Linked DNA regions of Homo sapiens: all the other regions are linked to region 3. The links are contacts of gene promoters, found by promoter capture Hi-C in human tissues and cell types (Jung and others, 2019). All regions are on one chromosome and are shown on one strand. The core of a region is centred on a gene start or on the middle of the fragment in contact, and the rest is flanking DNA. Distances in the headings are between cores, read along the strand shown. Region 1 overlaps CLCN6 (chloride voltage-gated channel 6). Region 2 holds the start of TNFRSF8 (TNF receptor superfamily member 8). Region 3 holds the start of DHRS3 (dehydrogenase/reductase 3).

Region 1 (2,700 bases), core at 11-2,510, 810 kb after region 3:
GAGTAGTGGGGAAACAACCTCCACATATCGGTGTTAGCAGTGTTCCGCGAGTGGTGCCTGAGAGCAGAGGAGAAACAATACCCTTGCCTTCATCCAAAATATGTATGGAAATTACTGGTCAAGTACTTCATTGATGGTTCCATCTAATAATGATATGGTTCCGTAAACATTTAGAAGGTTTTTAGATATCTAGAATAGGCAAATAGACAGAAAGGAGATCACTGGTTGCCTGGAGTCAGGGGCAAGGAGAACAGGCAGTGGCTGCTAATGAGTGCAGGGTTTCCTCTCAGGTGATGAAAATATTCTAAAATTGACTGTAGGAATTAGCTGGGCGCAGTGGCTCACGTCTGTAATCCCAGCACTTTGGGAGGCCAAGGCGGGCGGATCACCCGAGGCCAGGAGTTCAAGACCAGCCTGACCAACATGGAGAAGCCTCGTCTCTACTAAAAATACAAAATTAGCCGGGTGTGGTGGCAGACGCCTGTAATCCCAGCTACTTGGGAGGCTGAGGCAGGAGAATCACTTGAACCCGGGAGGCAGAGGTTGCAGTGAGCTGAGATCACAACATTGCACTCTTGCCTGGGCAACAAGAGCGAAACTCCGTCTCAAAAAAAAAAAAAAATTGACTGTAGGAATGGTTGTACAACTCTGTGAATATACTAATTTTTAAAACCCCATTGAATTGTACACTCTACATGGGTGAACTGAATAGTATGCCAATTATAGTGCAATAAAACTGCTAAGAAGGGCATTTAGAAACAACCGCAACGCTAGAACACCAGAATCCCTTTTTTTTTTGTCAGGGTCTCGCTCTGTCACCCAGGCTGGAGTGCAGTGGCGTGATCACAGCTCTCTGCAACCTCCGTCTCCTGGGCTCAAGCAATTCACCTGCTTCGATCTCCTGAGTAGGGGGGACCACAGGTTAGCCACCACACCTCGTTAATTTTTTCGTATTTGTTGTTGAGATGGAGTCTCGCCATGTTGCCCAGGCTGGTATGAAGTCCTGGGCTCAAGTGATCCACCTGCCTCAGCCTCCTAAAGTGTGGGGGTAACAGGTGTGGGCCACTGCACCCGGCCCCCTGCTAATTTTGAACAAATTTTTTTGTAGGAACAAAGTCTCACTTTATTGCCCAGGATGGTCTTGAACTCCTGGCTTTAAGCGATCCTCCTGCCTTGGCCTCCCAAAGTGCTGAGCATATAGGCGTGAGCCACTGTGCCACGCTTCTTTTTTTTTTAAATAAATTAGTTGAGTTTGGCCCTTTGTAAATATGTACCAATGGAATATATGAGCTATTATTAAAACCAGATACTGTTACTTCTCCTTTGCTATGACTAACTTTTTATTTCTGCAGTATATGTTGCTCTTTGGTTTAGGGGACTAACAACTTTTTAAAAAAATAAAATGTTATCTGTGTCTTGCAGGGCTGTTACAGGGGGTTACGAGCAAAATGGCACCTGGCCGGGAGGGAGGTGGGGGCTGAACCAGCCCCAATTCAACCAGGAAGGGGCATCTTAGTGTTCACACCAAAACCACCTTCAACTGGTTGTGAGCTAGGGGTGCTGCTATGGCCAGTGGGGGAGGCCTTTAATTCTAAGTCTTACGTTCTGAGTGTGCCTCTTTCTAATTCAAAGGTACAATATAAATAGACTGTGTGACCTGCATGAAAACATTCCTGTTTGCAATGGCACATCTCACAGAAAGTTACCATTTTTCAAACCACCTATAATGAGAATGGATGTCAAAATGGGATTCTAACATTTTGTAAGACCCTAAATTTATCAAATAAAGAGTCAAATATGTGCAATGAACTCTTCCTGAGACAGGAAGAAGGGGCACTTTTTAGAAAGATATTCAACAGAAGGGTTTTCTAGTTGACTGACTATCAAGGTAGAGAAAACCCTATAACTCCATTCATTAAAATATGACTATTAATACCTTACTAAATATCCTTCTACATCCTTACCCACGTTTTTATACACATGCTTTTAACACGTGTTTTAAATAACAAAAATGAGATTCCACTAAATCAACTATTTTAACCTGTCCCACTCACTCCCCTCTTTATTATACTTTTTGTGTCAAGTTGATTTATTTATTGAATAAATAAAATCCAGACTTTTCTGTTTAAGTGCCTGAATTTGTTCTTACACAAAGCAAGTGCTCTCAAGAAGCTCATTCTTGAAGATGGTTGAGAAATATCAATGACCAATATCAAAAGAACATTAACCCATGAAATGTACATGAATATGGCCACGCGTGGTGGCTCACGCTTGTAATCCCAGTACTTTGGGAGGCTGAGGTGGGTGGATCACCTGAGGTCAGGAGTTCAAGACCAGCCTGACCAACATGGTGAAACCCCATCTCTACTAAAAATACAAAACTTAGCCAGGCATGGTGGTGTATGCATGTAGTCCCAGCTACTTGGGAGGCTGAGGTAGGAGAACAGCTTGAACTCAGAGGCGGGGGTGGAGGTCGCAGTGATCCAAGACCGTACCACTGCATTCCAGCCTGGGCGACAGAGTGAGACTCTGTCTCAAACAATGACAAGAACAACAAAAATTTACATGAATATGCATATCAGCTGAAGGCAAGCACATTACAAATGTAAGTACAATTTAGTAGAAGGGGTGAGGGAGCCTGGGTGTCAATGGGGAAGCCTTGGTGAGCTCCTAGAAGTAGGATGAAGGCTGTGAGACAGT
Region 2 (2,700 bases), core at 75-2,574, 550 kb after region 3:
CATGGAGTCCTCTCTTCCTGTAGGATTAAAGGGGAACTGGGTCTTCCCTCTCCCCCACCGTGACCCACCGCTGGACTAACAGCCTGCTCCTTCCTTTCCCTCTGTATCATTCAGCAGGCATCCACTCGCACCTACTATGGTTCTATGCAGGGGTCCACCGGGGTCCTGGGTCAGCTGAGGGCCTCTCTCTCCAGCAGCCCCTGGGCTCCGTGAAACACGCCTGGTTACTTTGCATTCTCCCCACAGTGATTAATTTGGCGCTGGCCACTGGTAAGTGCTCAGTTTTCCTAAAGCAGTCCCCAAACTCAATTCTGAGGCAACCCACCATAGACTTCAGCCCCACCACTGACCTTCTTCCAGGGGCAAATGCCCACCACGTGCTCCAGCGAATTCAATCCACAGCGTTGCTTTGCCGGACGCGGATTGGGGAAGCTAATCCCGGTGGTCCTGCACCCTCACCCCACTCTCACCCACAGCCAACTCTCCCTCCTTTCCTTGACCCTCCAGCCAGTGGCCAGCTTAGGAAGGGGGCAAACGGGACCGCGCACACAACAGGGTAGAGCGCGGACGACCAACCTCCCATGGCTAAGGGAGGCCCCATCTGGCCTGCCCACTACTCCCACGGCCTCACCTGATCTGCCCAGGACCCCGACGGGCCCGCAGGTAGGCGGGCTAAAGAGCGCCTCCCGCGTATGGCAGTGCTCTCAGTCCAATTCACACTGAATGAATGAATCAGTCCCAGCCATCGCGGGGTGAGAAGGAGGCGCCCCCCACCACTAGCCCTTCAGCCAGCCTCCCACCTGTGGGTGCTAGCATATTCCGGTGTTCCTGCTTGTCACCCGCGCCCCCTCACTCCAGCTGGGCAGGGAACGGGGTGAGGAGTGTCCTCCCTTGCGTCCCACGCACCCCACACTGTCCGGGCTCTGGACCGCCGGCACCTCCCCAGGCGCCCGTCACCCGCTTACCTGTGGGAAGGCTCGTAGCGCCCCCAGGAACAGCAGTCCCAGCGCGGCGAGGAGGACGCGCATCCCCGGGGCCGGACGTGAGGTGGCCTGGCGGCCGGCGCCCACCTGGGAAGCGGGGGAAGCGCGCGGCGCCCACGTGCGGTCCCGGCGGTTCTCAGCCGCGCGCGTGGACTTCAGGCTCCAGCACACTCCCGCCGCGGCCACCTAGTCCGCACCCAACGCACGCCGCGAAGTCACTTCAAAAGTGGTTGTTCCTCCGAGGTTTCAGCCTTAGTTCTCCCGTATCAAATTGGTTCCAGGAACACTTAGCTACAAGCAGCGAAGAAAAAAGGGGGCAAACACGTGCAGAGATGACTCAGGAAAAGGCACACTAGGAGACGCCTCCCTTAGCTGTTTGAATGGCCCGCCCCGGATTTGACGGAACTAGTGGTCCTGGCTCTAGGGAGTGTGCTGCCCGCCGCACCTGGGCTGCGGGGAGCGGAGGCAGGCAGCTTCTGGCCCTGGAGGTGGGGACTCACAGGATATTAGGAGGCCCCAAGGGGGTTCCAATGCCCCCACCTCCACTCCTGCCCCAAGAAACGGTGAAATGTGAGTAGTTTCCTGTCCCTGACACGATCAGCCAGGACCTTCTCCCATGCCCTTGAGATTCTTTGGAAGGGACAACTGGCCTAGGGAGACTGCAGAAAAAGCAACCATCACCCACCCATCCCCATTCATAAGCATTTGCTGTAAAATGAATCAGTGAGTGGATGATAAATTGGTGGATGGATGGATGGATGGATGGATGCATAGGTGGATGGATGGATGGATGGATGGATGGATGGATGGATGGATGGATGCATAAGTGGATGGATGGATGGATGGATGGATGGATGGATGGATGGATGGATGCATAGGTGGATGGATGGATGGATGGATGGATGGATGGATGGATGGATGGATGCATAAGTGGATGGATGGATGGATGGATGGATGGATGCATAAGTGGATGGATGGATGGATGGATGGATGGGTGAGCAGCAGGTGAGTGGGTAAATGGGTGGGTGGATGGGTGGATGGATGGATGCATAGATGGATGGATGGATGGATGCATAGGTGGATGGATGGATGGATGGATGGATGGATGGATGCATAAGTGGATGGATGGATGGATGGATGGATGGATGGATGGATGGATGGATGGATGCATAGGTGGATGGATGGATGGATGGATGGATGGATGGATGGATGGATGCATAAGTGGATGGATGGATGCATAAGTGGATGGATGGATGGATGGATGGATGGATGGATGGATGGATGGGTGAGCAGCAGGTGAGTGGGTAAATGGGTGGGTGGATGGGTGGATGGATGGATGCATAGATGGATGGATGGATGGATGCATAGGTGGATGGATGGATGGATGGATGAGCAGCAGGTGAGTGGGTAAATGGGTGGGTGGATTGGTAGATGGATGGACTGAATGTTGGAGGAACTGATGGATGGTATAGATCATTTTATTTCCCTGAGGCCTGACCCTTTAGAGTTTTCTTCCTGGAGGAGGCGGCTGGCACTCTCTCCTAACAGAAATGATTCAAGCCTCCTCGTACTATGTTCTCATTTGCTGGTGAATGATTTTCCCTTCCAGTGCTTCCCCATCCCCTGGGTTTTCTCTTTGCTCCTTTTATTCCACATTCCGTGTGTCTGTGTTGAGCATCTGCTGGGTGGGCCACAGGTCAAGGGTTCTTTTGACTGA
Region 3 (2,700 bases), core at 85-2,584:
GCCTTTTGCTCTTCCAGTGGCTTTTCACCCAGAAGGAAGATCCTCCCCTGCAGAACCTCTCCCCAGAACTAGGTCTTTGCAGGTGACGAGGTAATCCCAGCCTCCCCTCCCCGCAGATCAGCGTTTTTCGAAGTGACTTTCTCACCAGGCGGAGCATTGAAAGTACCGATCCCAGCGCACCCAGCCCTGCTGAATCAGAATCTCTGGGGGTGAGGCCCAGGAATCGCCGTCTGAACAAGTCGCGGGCTGGAAACGGCTGCCCCAGATTACAGGGCAGCTCCCTGCTTCGCTCTCGCTCCTCCGGCCCCGGGAACGTGCAGGGGGGCGGGAGGCAAGTCCCATCAGCACTTTGAACTGGGGCTGCTTTTTAGTGACTCACCTCCCAGACTTCCTGCAACAGACAACTCTAAATAGCTCGGTCCCACCCTCCAGCAGGGGAGACATTCCGGTCGGGAAGGGCAGGAGGTTAGAAGGTGGGTGCCCCGCCAGGGCAGTCCAGGGAGACCCAAGGACAGGAGACGCTGGCTGCACAGCACAGGGGCGCACGAATAGGACGTTTTGTTTACAGGCTTTTGTTATTAAGGAAATTGGTGTCAGTCAAGGTAATTCTAGCTCAGATGAGCAATAAATATGCTCCCAGCTAATCTTGTGGGGATTTTATTGGCACTCGGAGCAGAGGTTCCTTTACCTTGACTACTCCCTCCCCTCAAAGCAAAGTCCTGCTCCCCAGCGGCTTCCCCCTAAGCATCGTGAGGCACTTGGGTCAGGCTTTTAAAAGTCCACTCTACGTGAACACAGAAGAGGTCCGGGCAAAGGTGAGGAGTGGCTTCCTGATCCTACCTGGAGGCCGAGGATGACCAAATGACCTGAAATAAAACCCTGGGTGACCTGGTTGGATCAAGGCATACGCAAGCTCCCCCGGGCCTGCTCCACACTCGGGGTGATCACCTGGCCCGCGGGCGGCCCGGGCAAGGAGGAACGTCTCGAGAAGGCAGCCGGCTCGCCGGAGTCGGTTCCAGCGTGTTCGAGTTACAGCTGCGAGCCCTCAGGGACACCGGCGGCAAGTCCCGGCTTGCAGAGAGGGGAGCCAGTCCCGGGAGAGCGCGAGTCCCGGCGAGCCCGAGTGCGCGCCTTATGCGCGCTCCCCGCGACGGCGCAGGGGGAGGGGAGGCCGCAGCAGCCACTCAGAGGAACGGTAGTGAAGCCTCCCAACAACTTTAACTGTCAATCAGACTTAATGGGGTATTGAAAAAATGGGGGAAAAAGGGGCCGCCCTCTCCGCGACGCGGCTGCCCGGGGAGCGAATGAATAGGGCCGCGCAGACCAAGGCGTCCGATCCACGCGCGCTCCACACCCGGACCCTCTCCAAGTTGGAAAGGACAAAAAGAAGGCAATAAATGCTAAAAAGGGAGAGAAGGGGAGCTGGATCGAGCGGCAACTCCCAGCCTCTGCTGGAACAGAGAGGGAGGGAGGGAGCCGGAGCGAGCGAGCGCGCGCGAGGGCGAGCGCTGCACGTAAAGAAACTGACACCCGGACCCCCCACTTCTCCTGCACGTTGCTGGCAATCAGATCGCGTTTAAGCAATTTCCTGAGCCCAAGAATAGCAATGAGTCGGGAGACTTTCGCGGGCTGAAATTGGGAGCTCCAAGCACTTTTTCCCCCCACTTTTTTTTTTTTTTTTTTTCTGGAGACGGGGTGGGGGTGGGGGCGCTACAATTTGGAATCAGCTTTTTTTTTTTTTTTTTTTTTTTTTTTAATCTTGCACTTTGAAACCGCGGGACCGAGGCAGGGTGCGCGCGTGTGGTTGGTGCCTTTTTTTTTTTTTCTTCCCCTCCCTAAACTCCTCTGTCAGTCTGTAAACATTACCTGAGAATTCCCCAGCCGAAACGGCTGCTGGGGCAAGAAACTTCTTGTTAGAACTTTCCACCTCCGGCTTCCCCCTCCACCTCTTTTACCGTCCCAACCTTAGGAGACGCTTTTTCTCCCCCAGAGGAGAATTTATCTTTTTTTTTTTTTTTTTTTTCTTTTTCTCACCCGGTGCTTTGCATTTGGGAAGAGGTGATTTCAAGAGTGGCCAGGTGGGACGCCTCTCTCCTCCTTATTCGGTTTACTATTTATTGTTCGGGGTGTTTTTTAATTCCTGTATTGCTCGGCCCGGGGAGTTTCGCCCCCTGCCCGGCTCCGCGGCGCGGAGGATGGTGTGGAAACGGCTGGGCGCGCTGGTGATGTTCCCTCTACAGATGATCTATCTGGTGGTGAAAGCAGCCGTCGGACTGGTGCTGCCCGCCAAGCTGCGGGACCTGTCGCGGGAGAACGTCCTCATCACCGGCGGCGGGAGAGGCATCGGGCGTCAGCTCGCCCGCGAGTTCGCGGAGCGCGGCGCCAGAAAGGTACCAGGCACTGCGACTCCAGGGAGTGGGGGGCCGCAGGGGCGGGGGTAAGCCCACCTGCTGCCGCTGCGGGATCCCGCGCCCGGGAGCTGAGAGTCGCCGGCCACCCCACTTCTCCGCGCCACCCACGAGTGCTGAGCTAGTCGGTTTCACCTTGTAAATTTCCCGGGCACCGGACTGTCTTTTTTGGCAGGTTCAGAGTTGATCCGCTCCTTTGGGATCGGTGGCTGGCTGACTGGCTATTCACCCCCACCCTGAAACCTAAGAGACCCACCATTTCCCACATTCCTGCCTCCCAAAGGAAGGTGTT

Evidence for each region. Contacts are between HindIII fragments. The study calls those that stand out against the background at their distance.
Region 1: a fragment that was not itself captured here is called in contact with the fragment with the promoter of DHRS3 in region 3 in 1 of the 25 tissues and cell types used here (adrenal gland).
Region 2: the fragment with the promoter of TNFRSF8 here is called in contact with the fragment with the promoter of DHRS3 in region 3 in 1 of the 25 tissues and cell types used here (adrenal gland).

Annotation. Positions count from the first base shown.
Region 1 is chr1:11,809,307-11,812,006 of GRCh38, reverse strand. All of the region lies in intron 2 of CLCN6 (chloride voltage-gated channel 6), which reads right to left. Among named protein-coding and RNA genes, the nearest start is that of CLCN6, 4.5 kb to the right of the region's middle. The HindIII fragment of the contact is 4,210 bases long and covers 1-2,700 here.
Region 2 is chr1:12,061,927-12,064,626 of GRCh38, reverse strand. It overlaps TNFRSF8 (TNF receptor superfamily member 8), which reads right to left and starts at 1,324. Exons shown (of 15, transcript NM_001243.5): 1 at 966-1,324. The coding sequence starts at 1,028. RefSeq lists silencers at 932-1,061, 1,649-1,881. The HindIII fragment of the contact is 14,330 bases long and covers 1-2,700 here.
Region 3 is chr1:12,616,844-12,619,543 of GRCh38, reverse strand. It overlaps DHRS3 (dehydrogenase/reductase 3), which reads left to right and starts at 1,334. Exons shown (of 6, transcript NM_004753.7): 1 at 1,334-2,390. The coding sequence starts at 2,196. RefSeq lists enhancers at 1-445, 446-1,077, 1,078-1,709. The HindIII fragment of the contact is 24,076 bases long and covers 1-2,700 here.